Regions from separate parts of the Homo sapiens genome. Here region 2 is linked to region 1. Evidence: promoter capture Hi-C in 16 types of primary human blood cells and fetal thymus (Javierre and others, 2016). All regions are on one chromosome and are shown on one strand. Each heading gives the region's core, a stretch centred on a gene start or on the middle of the fragment in contact. The rest is flanking DNA. Distances are from core to core; before and after follow the strand shown.

What was found. Contacts are between HindIII fragments. The CHiCAGO score rates a contact against its expected background, and 5 or more counts as called.
Region 2: a contact is called between the fragment with the promoter of PSMD1 here and the fragment with the promoter of ITM2C in region 1, in 2 of 17 cell types (M1 macrophages and fetal thymus). The highest score is 6.1, in M1 macrophages.

What each region holds. Positions count from the first base shown.
Region 1 is chr2:230,863,367-230,870,203 of GRCh38, reverse strand. ITM2C (integral membrane protein 2C) reads right to left here and starts at 5,262. Exons shown (of 6, transcript NM_030926.6): 1 at 5,059-5,262. The coding sequence starts at 5,178. RefSeq lists enhancers at 1-654, 3,946-4,602, 4,603-5,261, 5,920-6,578 and silencers at 4,063-4,162, 4,953-5,042, 5,143-5,512. The HindIII fragment of the contact is 7,451 bases long and covers 3,589-6,837 here.
Region 2 is chr2:231,055,614-231,062,636 of GRCh38, reverse strand. PSMD1 (proteasome 26S subunit, non-ATPase 1) reads right to left here and starts at 5,770. Exons shown (of 25, transcript NM_002807.4): 1 at 5,596-5,770; 2 at 1,327-1,370; 3 at 316-389; 4 at 1-131. The coding sequence starts at 5,611. LOC112268432 (a long non-coding RNA gene) reads left to right here and starts at 4,891. Exons shown (of 2, transcript XR_002959456.2): 1 at 4,891-5,300. RefSeq lists a silencer at 5,680-5,869. The HindIII fragment of the contact is 9,212 bases long and covers 3,649-7,023 here.

The DNA of each region.
Region 1 (6,837 bases), core at 4,013-6,512:
CTCACTGTCCCTTTGGCCCTCAAAGCAGCCTGTGATCTCGGGGTATTTACACCTGTCTGGGGACAGTGGGGCATCAGGGAGCCTGGGCTCAACCCAGAGCCCTGGCCCCTTGGGATCCCTGGTGCCCAGCTCACTAGAAAGATGGCCGAATGGCCCACCTTCCTGAGACCCCAGCCGCACCACCTATCATGCTGGGGACCCAGAAAAATGTTGCTCCCCATAGGAAGCAGTTACTGACAGTGAGGTATCTGAGGAGGGGGGCTCCCATTTAGATAGTAGAAAAATATTGCATATTGTTTCCAAGGCAACAGAGCTCTCTGAGCGAAGGGCGCATGAGCCGGAAGTCCAGGGACCCGAGAGAGGCCTGGGCCTCTCCCTGCAGGCTTAAACTGAGACCCACAGGGGCACTCATTAAATGATTTACCAAAGCCAGGGCCAAAATGGTCAGGGGGAAACCAGCCAACTGTAGCATTAACTCGGCAGACCCCCACAGCTGGAAGGGAGCGCTCCCGGGCCCCATCCCCCAGTAACAATGTCCAAATTAACTGCAAGCCGATTTAACGATGATTGCAGATTGCAGCCTGCCTGGAGGGGTTCGGCAGCCAGAAACGCACTCCTGAGGCCCAGGCTGAGAACAGGGAAGATGGGGGTTGGGGAGGCAGTCTCATCTCACCTCCCCCACATCTCTCCTGGTCCTCAGCAGCTTTCTTTCCCAGGCTCCAGACCACAGAGGCCAGGGCACCCACCGAGTGTGTGTGTCTTGTATGTGTTCAAGACAGAGCCTAGCTGGGGGAGAGGAGAGTGGGCAAACACTGTCCACCTGAGCACACAGAGCCCAGTGGTCCAGAGGCACAGATGCCATCTGCCAACAGGGTCAGGGGTCCCCATCACTCTCCTGTCCTCCCTTCCAGACTGCAGGCCCCACGGGCAGCATCTGTGCAGATGCGCTCTCGGCTTGGCTGGGCCAGGCGAATTCCCTCTTCTCTTCCATCCCTGATAGTCAAGGCATCTCCAGACAACAAAAGCTCACTGCTGGAAGAGCCCTCATGGGGAGAGGGAACTTGGAGAGAGTGGGGCGGTGGACAGAGGGGCTGGCCAGGTTGTGCCTCTGTGATTTCACCATAAACATTTTTTCTCCACACTAAGAGAAACTCATCCTCACTGGCAATCTGCTGACGGTCTTGAAACATGCAAGGACTGCTGAGAGAAGAGAGCAGAAATGAGGGAATGGAGAGAGAAGCGGCAGGAAAGCAGAGAAGCCACCGTGGGGCCTGCCGGGGCGCCAAATCCCAGGAATGGACGACAGCCATGAAAGTCCCCACGCTGCCACAGGGAAGGACCTGGATGGAGCAGGGCCGCTGCTCCACAAAGTGCTTTCGGGCCAGGCCCTCTTGGCCAGTGGGCATCAGGACACTGGGGTAGGGCTAAGCTGGCCAGATTTGCCCTCCTGGCTGGCACGGGACCCTCCCCCAACCGCTCCAGGAGACCCAGCTCCTCCTGCCGAGGGCCTGAGACCAGGACACACTAGGAAACTGAAATCTGATCCCCAGGTATGCAGGCTGGGGAGGGGGTGACACAGGACCATTAATCAAAGGCAAATGCCAAGGAGAAAATTACAGAGGTAAGAAGATGATTGTATTTAACTTGTTTTTCTCCCCTTACAGCCCCAGCTCGTGAGCCTCTACATGCCCACATCTGTGCGTGCATGTGTGTGCATAAGTGTGTGTGTGTGTGTGTGTGAGTGCAGGCACAGGCAGGGTGTGGGGAGAAGGGGCAGGCTAAGAGGGGCATGGCCAGCCAGTGGGCCCCCAAAGGGGAGGAGGGATCCAGTTGGCGCTGGGAGGGAGTGCTTTGCTGTCCCAGGGGGTGCTTCCGGTCCAGCCCACTTCCCAAGCTGGCAGTGTCCCAGCTCCTCATTATCTCAGAGTCAAAACACCAGGGGGGGAGGCCGGGCAGCTGGAAGCCCAGCTGGCCCCCACCCCCATCCCTCCCTGGCCCACTGAGGCACTTCCTTCCAGTCTCAGGTCCACAGACAAAATCCTCCTTGTGTTGCAGTTTTTGCTCAGAAGCAGGGGCAGTGCCCACCGAGAGGGTGCTCCTGCCGCCTCACCCTGCCCCCACCCCGCCCTCACTCTGGGCCTGGACACAGGTCAAGAACTGCCCCAACGCACAATCATCTGTTCACCGCACAATCATCTGTTCACCGAGTGCTCCTCCTGCGGATCACTTTTTACATCTTGTTTTGGGCCGGGTGTGGTGGCTGACACCTGTAATCCCAACAATTTGGGAGGCTGAGGTGGGAAGATCACCTGAGGTCAGGAATTTGAGACCAGTCTGGCCAACATGGTGAAACCCTGTCTCTACTAAAAATACAAAAATTAGCCGGGCATGGTGGCAGGTGCCTTTATTCCCAGCTACTTGGGAGGCTGAGGCAGGAGAATCACTTGAACCTGGAAGTGAAGGTTGCAATGAGCCAAGATCGTGCCACGGAACTCTAGCCTGGGTAAAAGTGAGACTCTGTCTCAAAAAAAAAAATAAAATAAAATAAAATAGATAAAATAAAATAAATCTTGTTTTGGAGTCCAGTTCAGACACCAAGGAGGGTTCTGGGGTCACTGCCAGCCAGAAGAAACGTTTTAATAAGCTTTCCTGGGCATTCCCAACAGTACGGGACAAAATCTACACGCCCTGCCCTGAGAAAGCAGCCTCCTGGCTGCCATCCCTCGGCTCACAGAGCTACAGCTGAGAAATGGGCCTCCTGCCTGCTCACTGCTGGGGGCAGGAGACGAGGCCTGGCTCCTTGCCAGAAACTGGGTAAGGAGGAAATGTGCGGGTTGGCCAAGTGGGGCAACAGGAGGCCCGCAGAAGTGAACTGTTTCCAAGGCTCCAAATCTAGCAGGTGATGGGCAGAGCCAACTTGCAACACCTAAAGTCCCTCTGCACCACGCCAGGGCCTTGGGAAGCTGTGAAAGTTTACTAACATGCAGTTCTGTCCTAAAGATGCCAGGATTCTAATTCTTTCCCCAGATCGCATAGTCCTAAGCTCCCCCTTGCCAATTAGAGAGGGAGGGGACCCTGCCCAACTGACAAAGTTTGAGGGAGGAGGTACTCAGCAGGCTCAAGGCCATTACAAACAGCACGCAGGAAGATGTTGATATTTCCATTTCATGCTGGGTGAGGGGGAAGAAAGGACGCTCAATTTCAGAGCCTGATGAGAAGCCAGAAGCTAGGATGTCAGTTATGCCCCGAGATGCAGGTCTCTGTCAGACTGCCCAAACCCATGCCATCAGCAGGCTGCGGCTGGAGAATGTGCCGCTCCTGCAAAATCTGGGGGACCTTCTGATGGAGTTGGAATAACACCCTCCCACTGTCTGACCTGGTCCTCCCTCCTCAAATATCTCCAGGAAGAGGTGGCTAGGAAAAGAGATGGGCAAGCGTGCTGCCTCCTGCCCCCATCCCTGCCCCTCCCCAGGCTGAGTGGAGGGCAGCTTCCCTTCCAAAGAAAAGGAGTCTTGAAGAACCCCTTGCAAACTTTTAAAGCTGCAGAACCATCTTCTTCAAATATGGAGCGCCCCCTCCACCTAAGCTTCAGATGAAAAGGGGGGAGCTGCTCTCATGGGGTGCACAGCAACCCCCAACCTCGCCTAGGTGGTTGTTGAACTCTTGTGGCTCTGAGCCACTGGTTGCTGCAGTGACCACCATAAAAGGGCAGGGGGTTCTCAGTCTCCTGGCATTCCTCACTCAGGGTCTCTGCCCAGGCTGACACCCAACTCTGACGGCCCTCTCCGGCGCCCCCTCCTCCAGGGTCCAGGTCATCCTCTGCAGGCCCCTTAATGCCCCAGGCAAGACTGAACCTGAGCCACAAAACCTGGGGAGGGGGCTAGGCGTTCAGGAAGACTCTTCAGAAGCCTGCATCTGGAAGTGGGGAAGCAGTGGACAAAGACTTTCTCAGTCCTGCCTCAATGCGGGGTGGGGAGGCGGGGAGGACATGGGCTTGGTAAGCCACAAGACCGCTGGGGGCGGCGCCCACGTAGACACCTTTGCCAGGCACAATAAAACCTGGCTGGGCCAGCTCTCCCTCCCTCCCTGTCCCTGCCCGCCACGCGTTCTGCCCCCTGCGGGCCCTTCCCGGACACAAGGCACGCAGCTCAGACAGTTTTCCACGGCGGAAATGCCTTCTCTCCCCCCCGGCCAGAGGGAAAGTGGAGGAAGCCGGGGTAGGGGAGGGGGATGACAGGGGTGGGGGAACGCGCACAGAGCCCGGGGACCCAGGATGCAAGGGCACTGGGGCAGTTGGGAGCCCTCCCCGTGGGGTCGGGGGACAGCCCAGCGAGAGGCTGGGAATGGAGAAAAGAGAGGGGAGCAGGGAGGCCCAGACGGCAGGGCGTGGGGTGGGAAGGGGGCACCCGGCCTCGGACCCCCGACGTCCAGAGGCCGCAGCGCCGTCGGTTCTGGCTGATTTCCATTTCATCACTTTCTGGTCTGTCAATTCCGGTGCAGGCCAGCAGCACATCCTCTGTCCCTCGCAGCCCCCAATTTCGGAGGAAATCAACGGCCCCACCCTCTTCGTTGGTACCAGACCCCCCCACCCCCAATTCCCCAGCCAATCAGGTCCCACCGCCCTACTTTGGAAAAACTACGTCTAACCCTCCTCCCATCCCCCACCTGGGGACTCGACTCGCGGCTTTCCCAGTTGATTGGAACCAGACGCGTACCCCCCCACCAACATTCCTCGAACTTCTTCGGACCAGCCCCCTCCCCCTATAAGGCGGCGAGGGGGCCCCCACTTTTGGAAGAGACCTCGAGCACTTCTCCACCTGAAGACCAGAACCAGACGCCTCCCACTCTTCGGACTTCAGCTTTTGGCTGCCGCTTTAGTACGGGACTTAAGCCCCCTCCTCATTCTGGGATAAGCAACCATTCGAGACTTCCCAACCCTGCTCCACCCCGGGCTCTGGGGCCCTGACGCGCCTCGGGCAGTCCCCAGGGCCGACGGGGCGCGCCTGGGTCGTGAGCCTGGGTCCCCCGCCCCACCGCCTGAGCCCCAGACCCTCTCACCCTAGCCGGCGTCAGCAGGATCTCGGTGGCCGAGGCCGGCGCAGGGGCCGACGCCGACGCCTTGTCAGCCTTGTCGCCCTTGATGCCAGCCACGGCGGGCTGGAAGCTAATCTTCACCATGGCTGCGCCGGCCCGCGCGTCCGCCCCGCAGCCTCTGCCGGTGCAGCCTCGGTCTCTGCCTCCGCCGCTCCGAGCTCTGCAGGCACCGGAAGTTTGGATCCCGCTCGCGTCCCTCTCTCTAACCCCACCCCCAGCCCTCCCCGCCCCGTCCCCGCGGGAGGGCCCCGGCGCCCGCCGCGCCTGCGCCCCCTTCCCGCCCGCGGGGCCCGCAGTGACCCCTGCCGGGCGCGCCGCTCCGCACCTGGGGCGGGTCGGAGTTCCTTCTGCCGCTCGCTCGCACAGTCACTCACTCGCTCGCTCACTCACTCACTCACTCACTCGCTCACTCATTCATTCAGCCGTCACGCTCGGATCCGTTCTCCGTAGCATAATCCCTTCGCATTCCCTGTCCAAGGCCAGCATCCCCGCAACGCAAGTCTTTGTTAACCCAGTGTTTGCCAGGCAAATGCAGCTTCCAGACAACTCACCCGTCTCTCCTGCCCCACTTCAGGTCTTCCCCTTTAGAAACGCTGGAGCCTCCGCTCTACCTGTCCCCACGCCCCCCTCCTCCGACCTGTCCTTGGCGCGGGGAGGAGGCTTTGAGACAGGCGCCAAACTGCTGCCTCCGTCTTGCCTTCTGAAGCCATCCACGCCTCCTTCATCCTCCATCTTGCTTCTGCCTTCATTCTTTATTCCTGCAAAACCTTCCTGGGGGGTCCTGGGGTGCACGCTGGAGCCGCCTGGAGTGGAGAAGGGAAGGCCGCCCCTGCTCCCTGGCTCCTTCGTGTTGCTGCGACCTCAGTTATTGGGTGACCTCCTGAACTGCCCTTGTCTCACTCATCCAGGAGGACCCTGGCGAGAGTGGAGGGAAGACCCCCAGGGCGGGTGTCAGAGGCTCGGGTTCCACTCAAGACTCTGCTCCTCCCAAGTATCACGGGTACTGGGGAAGCAGGGGCTTCTGTTGCTGGGATGGCTGCTCTTGGCACTAACGCCCTGAATCTTTCCTCTTTGCTCCTGGTCCAGACTGGGCCAGGGACAGCGCCCAGCAACACACACAGGTTGTGCTGAGTGGTCCGCTTTGGTTCTGCTGTTGGGCTGCCAGTGGAGGGCAGGGGAGTCCGTCCGCTTCTTGAGGACAGTCCGGGGTCCTCCACTGATCTCTCTTCTCACCTTTCAGGTCTTTTGCAGCTGCCTTGGGCCCTTAGCGCCCACGTCCCAGACCCGGACCTCTTGGCTCAGATCTTGGATGAACCTAGCAACCTTGAGGACAGACAGGTGGGGAAAGAAGAAAGTCTAACTGATGCTAAGGCCACCAGCCTGGGGAACTGGGGGGAGGGAATGGGGAGGTGGAAGAAGACAGATGGTTTGGAGGAGACGAGGAGGAATCTGGTTTGGCACAGAGCCAGAGAGGAAGGTGTTATGGACTACCGCTCATCACCTGCTCCAGATCCCATGGGAAACCTGGTGTCTGGAGAAGGCAAGCTCCACGTCTTGCTTAGGCCACACCCCCAACATGCATTCCTTCACTCAGTGTTTTCCAAGCACCCCTGTGTGCCAAGCATTGTGTTAAGCTCTGTGGCAGAAAACAGAGATGCCCAAGACACAACCCAGCCACCAAGGATGTGGTCATGTGAAACCTTCTATGAGTGGCATTCTTTCACGTGCATTCAATTATTTAAT
Region 2 (7,023 bases), core at 4,521-7,020, 190 kb before region 1:
TGAAGAGGTCCCCTGCTCCAAGAGCATAATTCAGAGACTCCTCAAAAGCCCCCAGGTGATAAAATACTTTAGATGCCACTAAGGCTGCAAACTGCCGACTCCGGAAACCTTCATCTTCGTATAAAACCTCTCTGAAAGAAATTAGGAAGTACAGGTCTAGTTCAAACTGTGGTTTTCCCTAAAAATCCCAAATCTAAATATTCAAGCCACAATTCAGTTAACAGCAAATTTCTAAATGAATCAATAAGCCACAAGACCCACATTCACAATTAAATTTGATCCATCTTATTCTGATTTATAAAAATAATTTCTTACATTTTGTCTACGGACTCGGAAATTTCTGCCCAGAAGTCATTAACAACTGCATTCAATTTGTGTAGTGCAAATTCCTGTAAAAGATAACCAAAATCCTATTTTGAGATAGACTTATCATTACACTTCCTTAAAAAATTCTTTTCAGCAAATCAATGATCAAATCCTCAGTAATATTTACTCAAACTTTTACTCTATGACAAATATAAAAATTTACCAACTTACACTTTTTCTTGAGTTTACACATTTCTTTTCTGTTTTCAATCATCAACATTTTTCTTCTTTGAATATAAACAATTAACTCCAGGTTGCTGGTTTAGATGTAAAGGAATCAAGTATCTAGAGCCACCAGAAGGACATTCCAAATTTTCATCAAATAAAAAACTTTAAATATGTGAAACAGAAGCAACAACTTTTTGTGTTTTCTGTTGATAATGAAACTGGGGCGGGGGAAGCGGAAGGTGTGGTGGCTCAGACCCGTAATCCCAGTACTTTGGGAGGTCAAGGCGGGGGGATCACTTGAGCCCAGGAGCAGGAGTTTGAGATCAACCTGGACAACACAGTGAGACCCCATCACAACAAAAAATTTAAAAATTAGCTGAGTGTGGTGGTGCATGCCTACAGTCCTAGCTACTTGGGAGGCTGAGGTGGGAGGATCATTTGAGTGTAGGAGGTCAAGGCTGCAGTGAACCATGACCACACACTGCACTCTAGCCTGGGTGATAAAGCGAGACTCTGTCTCAAAAAAGAAAAAAGATTAAAAAAAGAAAAAAAAGAAAGAAATTAGGGGGCTATTCAAGTGTCGTAACGAGGTTTATTTGTCTTAGCTTTGTTAAACTCAAGGGAAACCAACTGCTGTGGCCAAAATACTGTCCTCTCTGGCTAGGTTACAGTAACTGGGTACAAGCCAGCTAGGACAGCAACTTTAAATGATGGAAGATTACAGATATCACTAAATTCAAAAGGCTTCACAGTATTCACACTAAGCCTAGTTACTTATTCTTCAATTCATACCTTAAGCTGTGGTTCATCTTCATCCAGAAGAGAAATAATTCCAGCTATGAGAAAAAAGATGTAACATGATTATGAAACACATTCTCACTAAAGTGGAAATTAACACCTGGTCAAAAATACATGATGGCTGAAAAACAATTTTTTTGAGGCGTAACTTCTCCAGGGGAATGATTATTTTTCTTTGAAAGTGTAAAGGTTTATATCTCAAGTTTAAGACTTAACTATATTATCAAACCCTCATGGCACCACATATATTACATCATTTGCCTAATTCAATGGTTTTCAGTGTGTTCCCTGGACTAACAGCATTGCCTGGGAACCTGTTAGAAATACACATTCTCGGCCCCATTCCAGACCTACTGAATCACAAATTATGAGGATGGGGCCCAGTACTGTGATTCTTTTGCTCTCTATAGTTTGAGAACCATTGGCCTAATTTACTGATTAAAATGGGAAACTTTCCTATACAATTTTAGAATAAAATTATTCATACAAAATAAATCAACAGTTATAAGATTATTTACAAAAATGGGAGCATTTAGTCATCAAATCAACAAGGTAAAATACTTCAATTATTTCAAGGTGTGTATATTATGGCACCTCTTTCCTATCACAAGTAACCTGGGTTTTACCAAATGATGAACAATCATACTCATTCTGAATTCAATTACCCAAGCACAGTGTTCTCCATATGGCTTCTCTTAGCCTCAAGGTATTACCACTAACATAGGAGAGTAAAAGGAATAATTGTCCTCTCCAAAAGAACACACCTTGAAATATAGTCAAAGGTCAAAGGGATTATTGGAAAAATGATATGGGAAATTATTGTACTAAGACCACAAAGGAAACCACTCTCAAATGCTTTCCATGTGGGTTTTAAAATCATTCCAGAACACCGAGTTGAAACTGTGGTTTGATTAAAAAGTGTCAAGGCAACTTAGTTAGATGTAGCCATTTCTAATTGACAAGTATAGGTTTGCCAAATAGCTTAAGCAATCTTTAGGAAGCCACACAGGAAAAGATACAAAATTTACCAAGCAAAACTAAAGTAGCATAAAAGCAGATATAAAGAACCTCTTGGTACTCTAGGTTGGTATGACAAGTCCAGAACAGAGATTCTGAATGGACAGCACAGGGAACAGATAAATTTCAAAATTCAATCAGTGAAAAAGAAAAAATTGCAAACTAGTGATGTGGAGTAAGATGACAGGCCAGAATGCTTTAAATGTAGAACAGATCTTAAATAACAGAACACTTAATACTAAAACTGCTACCTATCCTCAGTCAATGTATTTGAACGGCTTTTACCAAAAAGGGAGATGGATTTTTATATTCTCTGGTTTGGTTTCACTTATGACTAACTGGTTACATGGTTGTCCTGGCTTGGAAACTCAGCCTCTGGCCATGGACCAGAACTAAATCAAATACTCTACACTCCATACATTAGTATTTCCCATCTTAAAAACAAAACAGAACTCTCTTCTGGAGAGGGGAGAGAATGGGAAAGGCCTAAGGATGCTAAAAGCCTCTTATGCCGTTATAGGAACTGAGCAGATATTGGTCTAAAACTGTTGAATCAATTGACAGAAATATTTGGATATTTATTTACAAATACGGAGGTATGTTCCAGAAGACACAGCTTAAAAGTTGGGAATACCTGCCTCTGGGGATCAGGAAAGGGAAAGTGAGGTGGGGGACTATTGTTTTAAAGCTTTTTAGCACAACTTTCCTTTATGTGTCTGTATTATGTTTAAAAAAGAAAACACCAACCCACTCAATTTCACATCTCCCGCCTGGAAGCACCTCTCTCTCTCTCTCCATTCCCCTGCATAGTCAAACCTCTTGGAAAAAACTAATAGAACATGTTGACCTCTTATTCACCACTGTATGGTGATGCCTAGCAACTGCCTGGTCAATAAATGAATGAACAAACTGACTAATCCACACCAGAACCATGAGACTAGCCTGTTTAGCACCTGGGACAAATTCTAAGCCAACATGAGCCATAGGACAGAAAACAAAGTGACAAAAGATTTGGAACAGAAGTTGACAAGTAATCCAATAAACTTAAATGGCAGTAATAAATATACACTATATGATCATCACAGAATCTCAGGATAGGACCTCAAAAATTATTAGTTTTGCCACCTTAAAGAGGCTTAAAGTCTATTATATTGTCACCAAGTGCTTTTTCCGCCTCTACTTTAAAAACTCAAGGGACTGATTAATTGCTTTGACTGGCTGACTGAGCTCTTCAGTCAAGACATACTTTTGAATTTCTGCCATGCTCTCAGCAGTATTCTAGAATTGTGAAAACAAGCTTCCTGCTCAAAATTCTACCAGAGAGAGAGAGAGAGACAGTGATCAGGCAAGTAAACAAACAAGGCAATTACAGAGCTGTGGTGGAGGGAGAGTAAGCGTGTTTTAATAGAATGATCAGGGAAGGATAACATTTGAGTTGAGACAAAAGATTGAGAAGCTAAGGGAAAATCTGAGGAAGAGAAGACTAGAAAGGAACAGAATGTGCCAGGGCCCCGAGATAGGAGAGAAACTGACATATCCAAGGAACAAAAAGTCCAGTGTGATTAGGATGTATTGAGTGAAGACAGTACTACAAGACAAGGCGGGAATCAGATCATGTGGGTCCTTGGTTAAGAGTCTGGATTTTACTGTATGCCAGGGGTGTCCAACCTTTTGGCTCCCCTGGGCCACAATGGAAGAAGTATCTTGGGGCATACATAAAATACACTAACACTAATGATAGCTAATGAGCTTAAAAAAAAAAAAAAAGGTTTGTATATAATTTTCACGATGTCCGACCACCACAGTAAGAAAAAAAGTCCTCGAATTCAAAGGGTTGGACACGGCTGCTCTAAACACAATGTAAGCACTGGTGGATTGTAAGCAAAGAAGTATTATGTGATTAAAGTTTTAAAAAGCATAGTCCACAAGAAAAACGGGCTGTACGGAGGTAATGGTCGAAAACAAAGCCTTAAGGCTGATATAGTAACCCAGACAAGAGATGAAGGTGGTTTGGGCCGAGTTAGAAGAAACATTGGTAATGGATGGATTTGAAATAGAATGAGGCCTATAGGTGGCAAGAAACTGAGTGTTTATTTGATCTTTACAAAGCTCTGACTGGAAAAACTTCCTGATACTGAACTAAAATTCATCTCGCGATCACTTGTATCTCTTGGGGACAAAAAGTCTTATTTCAGGTACAAGTGACAGCTCTTCAAATGTTTGAAAGTAACTACGTCTCCCAGTATCTCCAACGATCTCCTTAACCAATCCTCATAAAAATAAAGTTTTGATCGCCTTACCATTCAGATTACTGTCTTCTGCTCACCAGTTTGTTTACAATAAAATGCTTTCTTTGTGGGTCAAACACAGAGTAAGAAAATGAGAAAAGGGTATGTAAATAGGCAACGGAAAAAAGCACCAAGGCTCTGGACAGCTATATGCAAGTCAATCTGTAACGGGGAGCTTAAGTCTCCAATTGAAACTTGATCTCTGTAACTTACTCCATTGCAAATGTCACTACGTGAATCTACCTATGCAATGGTTTGCGCGTATGAAACCTGCTCCGCAGATCCATCCATTCTTTCTTGAATGTACAGTCAACAGACTGAGCACATAACCTCGAAAGGGTATAAGTAGGCTCTCAGTATAAAGGTATCTCCAGGGCGTCTTTAGGGTCTTCGCCGAACCCAAAAGTTCTCTGGGTGTTTTGAATGAACACCCTTGGATCGGACCCAGAAATGACCCACCTCAAACCTAATTTCGGGTTTCATTCTAAGGCGAATGGAGCTCGGCCACGTCCAGAAACACTTCTGTAGCAGTTAGGCTGCCCGATCAGGGGGGTTTGCCTTACTGTTCAATGGCACAGGGGCCCATCCCACCCCGGCCCCCTGCGGGCAAGAACTGGGGCTGGACGACCTCACACGGCCAAGAATGGGAGGCACAGAAAAAAGGTAAGCCCTTCTGGGGTCAGGGGAAGGCCCAGGAAGCCCCTCGGGTCCTGGCGCTGGGGTGTGATTGGGGAGGGATGCCGAGGCGGTCGACCCGGCTCGATTCCCTCAAGCCAGAGAAGCACGCAGTGACCTGATCAGACTCCCAGCCCCCCGGCCCGGGGGTGGGCCCTGGGCAGCAAGAAGCTGCCCAGGCCGGCGTTCCGCCGGGAGGCGCCCAGTCACCGGCCCTGACTCAGCTAAAAGCCGGCGCGGCGGCGGCTCCTCCCTCCAGGCGCTGGCTACGGGCCGCACTCACCGGCCGAGGTGATCATGGCTGCGCCCCTCACTCGCCCGTCGGCTCGCTCGCCGTTCCAGCTGCGCAGTGTATCTGTCAGCTCAGGGGCCGCTCAGTTCACCGCGCCTCCTTGCTCCCCGGGTGCGCTGCTCAGTCAGTCGCCTCCTCAGGCCGCCGGCTCGCTTCTCGCCAGGACCCCGCCCGCCCAGGGGCTGCCCGCCACCCCGCCTGCCGCCCGGCGCGAATTCTCCCCTGGCCTGCGTCTTCTGCGCGGCGGTATACTCCCCAGCCCTCGCGGAAGGGTACACAGAGAACACCATTGTTTTCTCTAAACCTCCTCGAGGTCAGGAGTCCCGCGCAACGGAACACTGGTCTGCACCTGAGGTCAGGCATTAGAATGGCCAGCCCTGCAAAGAGAGGACCCCCACCATCACCCGCCATTGCTGAGAGAAAGGGTGTTGAGGGGAGGTGCGAGCATTGCGCGCAGTGCCACCTACTGGTGGGAGGTCTCGCTGCAACACATCTCCCACCAGATAATGCTTAGGGAATTGGGGCTGCCGCAAACAGCGTTTTTTTTTGTTTTTTGTTTTTTTTCCCAGAAAAGTGGCTTTCAATTGTTTTCTAAAGCAAAACCTATCATAAAAAAAAGAAAATCCCCATAGAAGTGCTTTATTATCATAATGAATCCACAAGTAATCATTGGCTTATTATAAAGTTGAACAATGAAGGTTTTTACTTACTTTTGGAAAAATGTCCAGTGTTGTCAATATATTAAAATGTGCAGTAGTTATATGGCGAAAGCCTTTCCAAGGGAGAAAAAATGTCTTCCATTCTTTCCTTCTATCTGCCCAGGTCCTCTTTCCCCCGACGGCAGTGGGTTCTTCGTTTCTAATACATCTTCAGAAATTTGAAATGGCAGTTGCAATGGCCATTTGCAGTCTTATGCTAGCTTCAAGAAGTCAATTTATTTCAAGAGTCAGTACTGAGAAAGTCTTGACAAGGAATAGGGCAAACGGTAGCATTTTTTTCAGCCACCGGCCTTGCACTATCAAGCTAAACTCTTCAATCGCACAGCGATGGCGAGTTCATTTCTACGGCCTTCTACGTAACCTAGGGGCACAATCAATGTCTTGTGGTTGCCAGTGAATTAAATGTGCTTGATAACACATTTTGTTGTATCTGTGACTTTTTTTGTTTAAATTAGAATTCTTAAACTGTGGTTGTTTAAAATATATTAAATATAATTATTGAACATTTTTGAAGAGCCTGTGGCTCAGATTGAAAGGCAGGGCTCGAGAAGATGTGCATGCAAAGTAAACAGATTACTTGGGGTGTCATTCTACAGAGGTACTTCTTTTTTTTTTTTTTTGAGATGGAGTGTCCCTCTGCCACCCAGGCTGTAGGGCAATGGCGCGATCTCGGCTCACTGCAACCTCCGCCTCCTGGGTT